Regions from separate parts of the Homo sapiens genome. Here all the other regions are linked to region 2. Evidence: promoter capture Hi-C in 16 types of primary human blood cells and fetal thymus (Javierre and others, 2016). All regions are on one chromosome and are shown on one strand. Each heading gives the region's core, a stretch centred on a gene start or on the middle of the fragment in contact. The rest is flanking DNA. Distances are from core to core; before and after follow the strand shown. Region 1 overlaps SSC5D (scavenger receptor cysteine rich family member with 5 domains). Region 2 holds the start of PPP6R1 (protein phosphatase 6 regulatory subunit 1). Region 3 has its middle 7.4 kb from the start of ZNF579. Region 4 has its middle 9.8 kb from the start of ZNF579.

The links. The method cuts DNA at HindIII sites, captures the fragments that hold promoters and counts their contacts. A CHiCAGO score of 5 or more calls a contact.
Region 1: a contact is called between a fragment that was not itself captured here and the fragment with the promoter of PPP6R1 in region 2, in 8 of 17 cell types (fetal thymus, naive CD8 T cells, non-activated CD4 T cells and 5 more). The highest score is 6.5, in fetal thymus.
Region 3: a fragment that was not itself captured here is called in contact with the fragment with the promoter of PPP6R1 in region 2 in 2 of 17 cell types (fetal thymus and non-activated CD4 T cells); the score reaches 6.6 in fetal thymus.
Region 4: a fragment that was not itself captured here is called in contact with the fragment with the promoter of PPP6R1 in region 2 in 1 of 17 cell types (erythroblasts); the score reaches 6.0 in erythroblasts.

What each region holds. Positions count from the first base shown.
Region 1 is chr19:55,515,250-55,517,949 of GRCh38, reverse strand. It overlaps SSC5D (scavenger receptor cysteine rich family member with 5 domains), which reads right to left. Exons shown (of 14, transcript NM_001144950.2): 14 at 1-726. Among named protein-coding and RNA genes, the nearest start is that of SBK2, 21 kb to the left of the region's middle. RefSeq lists silencers at 554-733, 864-1,023 and an enhancer at 543-1,044. The HindIII fragment of the contact is 6,972 bases long and covers 1-2,700 here.
Region 2 is chr19:55,257,736-55,260,435 of GRCh38, reverse strand. PPP6R1 (protein phosphatase 6 regulatory subunit 1) reads left to right here and starts at 1,419. Exons shown (of 24, transcript NM_014931.4): 1 at 1,419-2,001. RefSeq lists enhancers at 782-831, 912-961, 992-1,191, 1,197-2,171 and silencers at 1,021-1,315, 1,222-1,501, 1,632-1,731, 1,902-1,961. The HindIII fragment of the contact is 27,894 bases long and covers 1-2,700 here.
Region 3 is chr19:55,586,858-55,589,592 of GRCh38, reverse strand. No RefSeq gene overlaps it. Among named protein-coding and RNA genes, the nearest start is that of ZNF579, 7.4 kb to the right of the region's middle. RefSeq lists a silencer at 2,182-2,231. The HindIII fragment of the contact is 6,157 bases long and covers 1-2,735 here.
Region 4 is chr19:55,569,674-55,572,503 of GRCh38, reverse strand. No RefSeq gene overlaps it. Among named protein-coding and RNA genes, the nearest start is that of ZNF579, 9.8 kb to the left of the region's middle. The HindIII fragment of the contact is 6,950 bases long and covers 1-2,830 here.

The sequences.
Region 1 (2,700 bases), core at 186-2,685, 260 kb before region 2:
AGGGTTGAGGGGTTGTGGTGGGGTCAGGAATCATGGTGGAGTGAGTGATGGTGGTGAAGGGTTGAGGGGTTGTGGTGGGGTCAGGAATCATGGTGGAGTGAGTGATGGTGGTGGGGTGAGGGGTCGTGGTGGGGTGAGGGGTGGTAGGGAAGTGAGGGGTCACAGTAGGGTTAAGGGTTGTGATGGGGTCAGGGGCCATGGTGGGATCAGGGGTAGTAGTGGGGTGAGGGCTTGGGGAGGGGTCTGGGGATCTAGAATATTCTGAGACTGTACTGGAGTATGGAGTTGTGTCCAAATCTGGGGTTGTGTCAGATTCTGGGACCTGCTCTGAGGTAGGGGAAAGGCTGGTCACCTCCGACGGTGTAGAAGGGTCAGAGGTCAGCTCTTTGGGCAAGGTGGGTAAGGGCGTGGGTGAGGGCTCCGGGGTCAACGCGGGAACCACACTGGAGTCAGGGGTGGACAAAGCAAAGTCAGGGCTTGTCAAGATGAGGTCGGGGTTCGTCCGGGAGGCCGGGTCTGGGGTGGGTGGTGAAGTGTCCGGAGCGTCAGAGGTCGCCTCGGACGTCAAGGCTGAGTGGGGAGTGAGCTCTCGACTGGAGTCAGAGGTCAGCGCTGGGCCTGGGGGTCCCGGAGAGGCGGAGGGACCTGGGGACGGGGTTGGGGGCGCTGTCCTGGTCGCAGCGGGCCGCGGTGGCCGGCGCTCGGGCCACGGTTTCCTCGGGGAACCTGGAGGAGGAGGAAAGACAGACGGACGGTCTGAGGTCAACCGGCTCCGCCCACCACGCGTCCCGCCCCGCCCCTCGAGGAGCCGACCAATGGAAAGGCACAGAGCCTCGAGACGTCATGGGTCACCGGCAGACTTCACCCGGCCCTAGGGCCCCTCCTCCCTACGTCCTCCGATGGCTCCAGGCGCCACCTGGCGTCCTCCACTGCGGGAGGATGCGGGGATGCTCCGGACTCGGGGATGCCGAGGGGCACGCGGGTTGCGGGAGCGGGTGCAGGAGGGTGAGGTGAGGGAGGGATGCGTGGGGTGCTGGGGTGCGGGAGGGGGCGGGAGTGCTCAGAAGCGTGCAGCATACGGGAGGATTCTGAGCCAGCGGGGGACTGGGAGATGTGCGGAGCCAGGGGAGGCAGGGAGACCAAAGAGGGCTCCGAAGGGTAATGTTAGTAATCAAAATAAATACTTTTATGGATTTTTTTATTTTTTAAGATAAAGTCTGGCTGTGTCGCCCAAGCTGGAGTGCGGTGGCAAGATCATAGCTCACTGTAACCTCGAACTCCTGGGCTCAAGCGTTTTTATGCAATATTTTTAAACAATCAAAATTAATCCAAAAGATCCACAGTTAACCAAAGTTAACATTTTAACCAAAGACGGGATCCAACAGGGCCAGGATTAGGGGGAGCCCAGCGAGGCGGATAGGATCCTGTCTTCAGTGACTTTTTTTTTTTTTTTGAGATGGAGTCTCGCTCTGTCGCCCAGGCTGGAGTGCAGTGGCGTGATCTCGGCTCACTGCAAGCTCCGCCTCCCGGGTTCACACCATTCTCCTGCCTCAGCCTCCCGAGTAGCTGGGACTACAGGCGCCCGCCACCACACCAGGCTAATTTTTTGTATTTTTAGTAGAGACGGGGTTTCACCGTGTTGGCCAGGATGGTCTCGATCTCCTGACCTCGTGATCCGCCCGCCTGGGCCTCCCAAAGTGCTGGGATTACAGGCATGAGCCATCGCGCCCGGCCTTCAGTTACATTTTTGATACCGAGTTCATCATGGGTTTTTTTTTTTTTGGCATTAATTTTCATTTTAAAAAATACTGTATTATGATATTATGTATCTTGATTTTGGCGTTTTGGGCACCCCCTTAAATTTTGGGCCTGAGTAGCAGGAGGAGCCTGACCCTCTTCTGGGGCTGTCTTCCAAGTGAGTGCCAATTTTATCCCCATTTTACAGAAGGGGGAAATTAGGGCAAGAGGGCAGGTGACTCGCCCAAGGTCACACAGACATAGTTTGCAAGTTGCAGGGCTAAGACTTGAACCCAAGTTGTTTGCACATAGAGTCTAGGCAATGAAATCTCACATCTGCAGTGATGGGAATGCGCTGTGATCTACCGTGCCAATACAGTAGCCACTGGCCACATGTGGCTACCAAGCCCTTGAAATGCGGCCAGTGTGAATGAGAAACTAAATGTTTCATTTTCTTTTATTTTATTTTATTTTTTTTTTTGAGACGGAGTCTCACTCTGTCGCCCAGGTTAGAGTGCAGTGGCACGATCTCGCCTCACTGCCAGCTTTGCCTCCCAGGTTCATGCCATTCTCCTGCCTCAGCCTCCCGAGAAGCTGGGACTACAGGCGCTCGCCACCATGTCCTGCTAATTTTTTGTATTTTTAGTAGAGATGGGGTTTCACTGTGTTAGCCAGGACGGTCGCGATCTCCTGACCTCGTGATCCGCCCGCTTCGGCCTCCCAAAGTGCTGGGATTACAGGCGTGGCCACTGCGCCCGGCAAATGTTTCATTTTCAAAGTGTTAATTCATTTAACTTTTTTTTTTTTTTTTTTTTTGAGACGGAGTTTCACTCCTGTTGCCCAGGCTGGAGTGCAGTGGCGCGATCTTGGCTCGCTGCAATCTCCGCCTCCTGGGTTCAAGTGATTCTCCTGTGTCCACTTCCTGAGTAGCTGGGATGACAGGCATGTGCCACCATGCCCAGC
Region 2 (2,700 bases), core at 170-2,669:
CCCAGTGTGAGCTGGCATTATCCAATCCATTGAGGGTCTCAATAGAACAAAGAGGGCAAAGGAGGGGTGAATTTGCTCTTTTTTTTTTTTTTTTTTTTTCTCGAGACGGAGTCTCGCTCTGTCACCCAGGCTGGAGTGCAGTGGCCTGATCTGGGCTCACTGCAACATCCACCTCCCGGGTTCAAGTAATTCTCCTGCCTCAGCCTCCTGAGTAGCTGGGATTACAGGCGCACACCGCCACGTCCGGCTATTTTTTGTATTTTAGTAGACACGTGGTTTCACTGTGTTGCCCAGGCTGGTCTCAAACTCCTGAGCTCAGGCAATCCGCCCACCTCGGCCTCCCAAAGTGCTGGGATTATAGGCGTGGGGTCTTGAACTCCTGAGCTCAAGTACAGGCAGGCGTGAGCCACCACGCTGGGCCCTTTGTTTTTGAGACAGGTTCTCGCTCTGTCTCCTAGGATGGAGTGCAGTGGTGCAATCCGGCTCACTGCAGCCTCGGCTCAAGCGATTCTCCTGCCTTAGCCTCCCGAATAGCTGAGACCACAGGCGCGGGCCACCAGGCCCAACTAATTTTTTAAATTTTCTTTTGTAGAGACGGGGGTCTCCCTAGGTTGCCCAGGCTGGTCTCCAACTCCTGGTCTCATGCCATCCTCCGGCCTCGGGCCTCCTAAAGTGTTGTGATTACAAGCGTAAGCCACCGCGCCCGGCCAATTCGGAGTCTTAAAACAAAAACAAAAACAAAAAAGTTCCTCGCGCCCACACGATTTTTACAGTAGGCCTCTAACATGGGTAGAGAGGGGAGCTATTAAAGTTGGGGAAACCGAGGCTCAAAGCCAGAGGGACCTTCATCAATCTAGACACAAGGTCTAGGAGGTCTCTTTCAGTTGATGCTATTAGAAGCTGCTTTGGGCGGAACTGGCAACACCAGCGACCCGGCCGGGACTATCGCCAGCAGACGGAAACGACTGAGGGCCTCTGAGGCTCGGAGGCGGCTAAGCGCGAGAGCCGGACGGAACGAAGGCGCCTGGCTTTGGCTGGAGCGAAAACCAGGTCTGGATTTCGCAAGAGCCCGACCCTGGAGCCAAAGCTCCACTATGATTAGAGGAGACAGAACAGCGAACGGATTTCCAAACGGAGCGAGTGGGAAGGGAAATCCTGGAGCGGAATATTCACGGGGCCTTGGAACGGAGCCGGTGCGCAGCTGCGGCTCACTGAGCTGTCTGGGTTTATTCCGGGGCAGACCGTTGGCACCAACGGGCGCAAGCGCGTCTGCGGCGGCGGGGTTCAAGAGTGGGCGGTGTCGGGAGCGCCCGGGCGCACGCGCACTGCACCGCCCAGGCGTGCACCCCGCCCCCCGCACCTGCGCACCAACACAGCCGCGGGAGGGCGGGGCCTCCTGCGTCGTCCTGCGCTAGGGGGATTGTGGGATAGTGGCGGAGGGAGCCGGGCGTCGGAGGCCCTGAGGCCGGCCGCAGAGCCCGGAGATTGAGCGGCTTTGGGGAAGGGGTGGTTAAGGAAGTAGGCCTCGGCTTCCGTCGGTCGCTGCTCGGCTCTGCGGCCCGTTTGGACCGCGGAGGAGGTCGCCTTCCCCTCCCGTGGGGCGCTCGGTTGGACTGTGGAAACCGGGGCAACTTCCCCCGTCTTCCCGGCTGAGGCGCCTGCGTGGGCCTCGCGACCCGGCTCGCCAACCCGCCTCGGCCCGCACGCCCACCTCGCCTGCGGACCCCGGAGGTGCCTACGCGGACTAGTGACGCCCCCCGCCCGTCGGCAACTCCACCCGGCGCTGACCCCCTCAACTCTGCAGGACCCGGCGCGCGAGGACCCCACGACCCGCGGGCGCCTGCGCGGACCCCGCGAGCCCCGGCGCCTGCGCGAGTCCCCGACGCCGCCCCCGCCCCCACTCACCGGGCCCCGCAGCAGGGGCCGGAGCCGCCGGCGGCGGGGCGGGGGGGGGCGCCCCGATGAGCCCCGAGTGCGAGGAGCCGCCGCCCCCCCTCGCAGGTGAGCGGCCCGCGTCGCCCGACCCTCTCTCTCCAGGGCCAGGCGCCCACGTCTTCCCCTCTCCGCGTCCCCTCAGGCTTTTCCCTCTCGGGACCCCCGCGGGTCTTTTCTGCTTCGGATCCTTTCCCTCCTTCCTTCGGGTTTCCTCTCCACGGCACCCCGTTTCTTCCCCCTCGACCCTCCCCAGTCTCTTAATCTCTTCACCTCAGCTCCGCCGCCACCCTAGTCTCAGTCTCTTGCTCTCGGCCTTTTCCCACTCGCTCTCTGCAGCTGCGCTCCCCAGTCCCTGAGCCTCAGCTCCGCTCTCTTGCCTCTCTGGCCGGTTCCCCGGCCCCCCAGGAGTCTTTCTCCCTGGTTACCCTGGACTTTGCCTGCTTACACCCTTCCCTCTCGCCCCGATCTCTGCCCCGCCACCTCTTCCGTGGCGCAGCCTCCTTAGATCCCCGGAGCTCAGGACTGGAGGAGCGGGGCTTGTTTTCACCTTGACCGACCCTCTCCCGCCTCCGGCTTCTTGTGCGAGGGACCTGGGAGCGGGGCTTCTCTGGAGCAGCCACCACTCGGGCCTGCTTCAGTGAGATGAAGCCTGCTGAGGGCAGGCAGGGAGCCTGGCGCTGGGCACCGAGGAGGGGGCATCAGCCCTAGGCCCTGCCCTGGAGGTGGGGCCGGTCCCTGGAGGGGGTACAAAGGCAGAGCCGGACA
Region 3 (2,735 bases), core at 161-2,660, 330 kb before region 2:
TGGGTTCAAGTGATTCTCATGCCTTAGCCTCCCAAGTAGCTGGGATTACAGATGTGCACCACTACACCTAGCTAATTTTTGTATTTTTAGTAGAGACGGGCTTTCACCATGTTGGTCAGATTGGTCTCGAACTCCTGACCTCAGGTGATCGATCTGCCCGCCTCGGCCTCCCAAAGTGCTGGGATTACAGGTGTGAGCCACTGCACCCTGCTGAGTTTCTTAAATTAAATGCCCCACAGGTTGCCATTCTCAAATATTGAACATACATATATCCTGTGATGCAGGAATTCTACTGCTAGGCGTAAATGCTAACTCAAGTCCCCCTGCACCCAGAGACATACAAAAACATTCATAGCAGCAATACTTTCAACCCCAAACTCAGGACAACCAAAACGCCCATCAGCAATACAGTGGATAATTAGCGATGGCATATTATGCAGTGGAATACTATACGGCAACAAGAATGAATGAGCTGCAGATAAACACAGTATCATGAATGAAAGTTACAAAGATACAGGACCCAAAAAGCCAGAAACAGAGCATGATTTCATTTACATAACATTGAGGCCAGGTGCAGTGGCTCACGCCTATAGTCCCAGCACTTTGGAAGGCCAAGGCAGGAGGATTGCTTGAGTCCAGGAGTTCGAGATCAGCCTGGGCAACATGGCAAGACCCCGTCTCGAGTAAAAATACAAAAAATAGCCAGGTGTGGTGGCGTGTGCCTGTAGGCCCAGCTACTCGGGGGGCTGAGACAGGAGGATCGCTGGAGCCTGGGGTAGGGGGACGGAGGTTGCAGTGAGCTAAGATCATTCCACTGCATTCCAGCCTGGCCAACAGAGGGAGACCCTGTCTCCAAAAAAAAAAAAAAAAAAAAAGCAAACCCATTATAATGCACATAAAACTAAACTGTAATATTGTTAAGGATACATTGTCAGTAGTAAACCATATAAAAAAGCAAGGACAACAATGTCCTATAAAACTCAGAATAGTGGACTGGACAAGTTAAGCGGGAGGGGATATCCTGGAAGTTTCCACGGTTGCTGATAGCCGACAAAGTTCTAGTTCTTAATCGGACGATCATTTTATAATTATTTATTCAATTGTGTGTTTGTATTGTGCATTTTTTCTCTGTGTGTCTTATATTTCACAAAGAAGATATTTTAGGCTGGGCGAGTTGACTCATGTCTGTAATCCCAGCAATTTCAGAGGCTGAGGCAGGAGGATGGCTTGAGCTCAGGAGTTCGAGACCAGCCTAGGCAACATAGTGAGATCCTGTCTCTACCAAAAACAAAACAAACAAACAAACAAAAAACCGGCATGGTGGTGCACGCCTGTAGTCCCAGTTACTTGGGAGGCTGAGCTGAGAGGATCACTTGAGCTCAGGAGGTCGAGGTTGCAGTGAGCTATGATCGCACCACTGCACTCCAGCCTGGGCGACAGAGTGCGACCCCGTCTCAAAAATAAAAAATAATTCCGAACGTGTTGGCTCACGCCTGTAATCCCAGCACTTTTGGAGGCTGAGGCAGGCGGATCACTTGAGTTCAGGACCACCCTGGGCAATATGGTGAAATGCCGTCTCTACTAAAAATACGAAAATTAGCTGGGCATGGTGGTGCACGCCTGTAATCCCAGCTACTCGAGAGACTGAGGCGGGAGAATCGCTTGAACCTAGAAGGCAGAGGTTGCAGTGACCCAAGAACATGCCACTGCACTCCAGCCCGGGTGACAGAGCGAGACGTCCGTCTGAAAAAATAAATTAATTAATTAAAATTTAAAATATAAATTAAAAAAGAAAGAAAAAGAAAGGAAAATTTAAAGGAGGAAGACATATTCTGGGAGGAGAAAACAAGTAAGAGTTTAGCACTCAAGGGAGACTTTTTGAATGGAGATCCACTGTTGCCTGTTTGAAAAAGCTCAACCTTTGGGAATAAAATCAGCTAAATCTTAGAGATATTCCTCTCCACTCTGCAACCGCCACTCAAAAACCAGACATGCTTTCTGGTTTGAGAAAAAAAGTATCTTCTTTCGAGAAACAAGGCCCGCCCACTTCGAAGCAGGCACCGCCCCCAGGGACAAGACCCGCCCACTCCGAGACCGGCTTAGAGACAGGCTGAGCCCCGGAGCTGCGCACTGGAAAGGCGCCAGCGTTGCCATGGAGATGGCCGCCGGCCAGGGAGTAATGAATAGGGACCTCGCGAGGCTGAGGTTCCCACCCACCTCACCTGCACCACAGTCCTTTCTCTTCTGGGGCGGTAACGAGAAGGACCCATCCCATTTCCTCCGTGTCTCACAAGCGCCCGGTGCTGGACTGGACACTGCACCCAACGCGTCACATAGCGGCCCCATTTTATAGATACGCTGATTGAGGTTGGAGGGGGGGTGGGAAGCGAGGAGAGGACAGGAGCGGGAATTTTACCCTGAGGACGATCTCAACCGTTGCAAAACATTAATTACTAGCCAGACGCCGGCGACTCACACGCCTGTGTTTGGCGAGCTGATTCCTGCGTGCAGACCTTGGAGCCAGCCAGCGTCCTGCACGCTTGCCTGAGCGGGAGTCTCCCCCGGGCCCCCGAGCCTTCTTCCTTTCAGGAACAGCCTCACTCCTCCCACCCTTCATCCCTTTTTATTCATCCACAAATGCTTGTTAAGCCCCTTGTCTGTCCCGGGCAGCCACCTGTGGGCAGAGCCGTTAAACAGGCAAAACAAGCCCCTTCCCTTGTGGAGTTTTTATTCTA
Region 4 (2,830 bases), core at 309-2,808, 310 kb before region 2:
GGGTTTGCCCACCCTTCTCATTGCAGATCTGCCGCCTCGAAGAGAAACATTTTCAGAACCAAATACAGAATTGACAAAGAGAAGACGGCCTTGGAGATAGAGCCCAGCTTTTTCATTGCGCAGGTGGAAAACTGAGGCCAGATGCGTGGGACAGATGCAGAGAATGATAAAGTCACCAAATGACGGTGATTATTGAAGGAGTTGTGGTTATGTAGGGAACACGACCTGCCATTTGTCTTTCACTTGCTGAACACTTTACACGTACGATCGCAACCACATTTGTTTGTTTTTGCTTGTTTGTTTGTTTTTTGAGACGGAGTTCACTCTTGTTGCCCAGGCTGGAGTGCAATGGCACGATCTCGGCTCACCGCAACCTCCGCCTCCTGGGTTCAAGTGCTTCTCCAGCCTCAGCCTCCCGAGTAGCTGGGGTTACAGGCATGCACCACCATGCCCGGCTAATTTTGTATTTTTAGTAGAGACAAGGTTTCTCCATATTGGTCAGGCTGGTCTCGAACTCCCGACCTCAGGTGATCCACCCGCCTTGGCCTCCCAAAGTGCTGGGATTACAGGCGTGAGCCACCGTGCCCAGCCTGCAACCACATTTGTTAATAATAGGAACCCACTTCTTGAGTATTCACCCTATGTCTGCTTCAAGGGTACTACGTAGATTAGCCCATTTAATCCTCACAACAGCCACATAAAATAGATACTATTATTGGCTCTGTTTTCGTTTTGCCTTTTCATAAACAGCTTTACTGAGGTACCATTTACATATAGACTTCATCCATTTGGTCGTACAATTCGATAATTTTTTTTTTTTTTTTAGACAGAGTCTCACTCTGTTGCCCAGGCTCAAGTGCAGTGGCTTGATCTCGGTTCACTGCAACCTCCGCCTCCTGGGTTCAAGCAATTCTCTGCCTTAGCCACCCAAGTAGCTGGGATTACAGGTGCCTGCCACTACGCCTCACTAATTTTTTTTTGTATTTTTAGTATGAACGGGGTTTCACCATGTTGGCCAGGCTGGTCTTGAACACCTGACCTCATGATCTACCCACCTCGGCCTCCCAAAGTGCTGGGATTACAGGCGTAATTTGATAATTTTTAATAAATGTACAGAGTTGTGCCTCTATCACCACAATCCAATTTTAGAATATTTCCAGGCTGGGTGTGGTGGCTCAGGTCTGTAATCCCAGCACTTTGGGAAGCTGAGGCGGCAGGAGCACTTGGAGCCAAGAGTTTGAGACCAGCCTGGACAACAAAGCAAGACCCTGTCGCTACAAAACATTGAACAAAAATTAGCTGGCTGTGGTGGCAAGTGCCTGTAATCCCAGCTACTTGGGAGACGGAGGTGGGAGGGTGTCTTGAGCCCAGGAGTTGAAGGCTGCAGTGAGCTATATGAGTTGAAGGCTGCAGTGAGCTATGATCACACCACTGAACTCCAGCCAAGGCCACAGAACAAGATCCTGTCTCTAAAAAATAATAATAATAATAAATAAATTGATGAATTAATTAAAAATTTTAAAAAGAATATTTTGATCACCTCAAAAAGACATTCTGTGCCTGTTAATAGTCATTTTCCATTCCCACCCTCAGCTCTGGGCAACCACGAATCTATTTTGTCTCTATGGATGAACCTATTCTAGACATTTCATATAAATGGAATATGCCATATGTAGCTTTGGTGACTGCCTTCCTCCTCTTAGCATAATGTCTTCAAGGTCTATTCACATTGTAAATTGTGTCAGTTCAGTACTTAATTGCTTTTTAGTTGTTGTTGTTGCTGTTATTGAGAGAAGGCCTCACTTTGTTGCCCAGGCTAGAGTCCAGTGGTGCTATCATGGCTCACTGCAGCCTCAACCTCAAGTGATCCATCTCTCCCCAGTTTCCTGAGCAGCTGGGACCACAGGGTGCATCATGACACCTGGATAATATTTTTATTTCTTGTAGAGATGGGGGTCTCACTATGTTGCCCGAGCTGATCTTCAACTCCTAGGCTCAAGCAATCCTCCCACCTTGATCTCCCAAACTGCTGGGATCAAAGGCATGAGCCATTGCACCCACCCTCTTCATTCCTTTTTTACAGCTGAATAATATTCCACTGTATGGATACACCACACATTGTTTATCCTCTCATCCGTTGATGGGTGTTTGTATTGTTTCTACTCTTTGGCTGTTTAAGTAATGCTGCTGTGAACATGCATGTACAAGTCTTTTTTTTTTGTTTAGAGACGGAGTCTCGCTCTGTTGCCCAGGCTGGAGTGCAGTGGCATGATCTCTGCTCACTGCAAGCTCCGCCTCCCGGGTTCATGCCATTCTCCTGCCTCAGCCTCCTGAGTAGCTGGGACTGCAGGCACCAGCCACCACACCCAGCTAATTTTTGTATTTTTAGTAGAGACAGGGTTTCACCCTGTCAGCCAGGATGGTCTCAATCTCTTGACCTCATGATCTGCCTGCCTCGTCCTCCAAAAAGTGCTGGGATTACAGGCATGAGCCACCATGCCCGGCCTTTGTTTTTTTTCTTTTTTTTTTTTTTTGACGGGATCTTGCTCTGTTGCCCAGGCTGGAGTGCAGTGGTGTGCAGTCTCGGCTCACTGCAGCCTCTGCCTCTGAGGTTCAAGCAACTCTCCCACCTCAGCCTCCCGAGTAGCAGGGATTACAGGGGCACACCACCACACCCAGCTAATTTTTGCATTTTTAGTGGAGACGGGGTTTCACCATGTTGGCCACGCTAGTCTCAAACTCCTGACCTCTGGTGATCCACCTGCCTCAGCCTCCCAAAGTGCTGGGATTATAGGCCTGAGCCACTGCGCCCAGCAACAGGTCTTTGTGT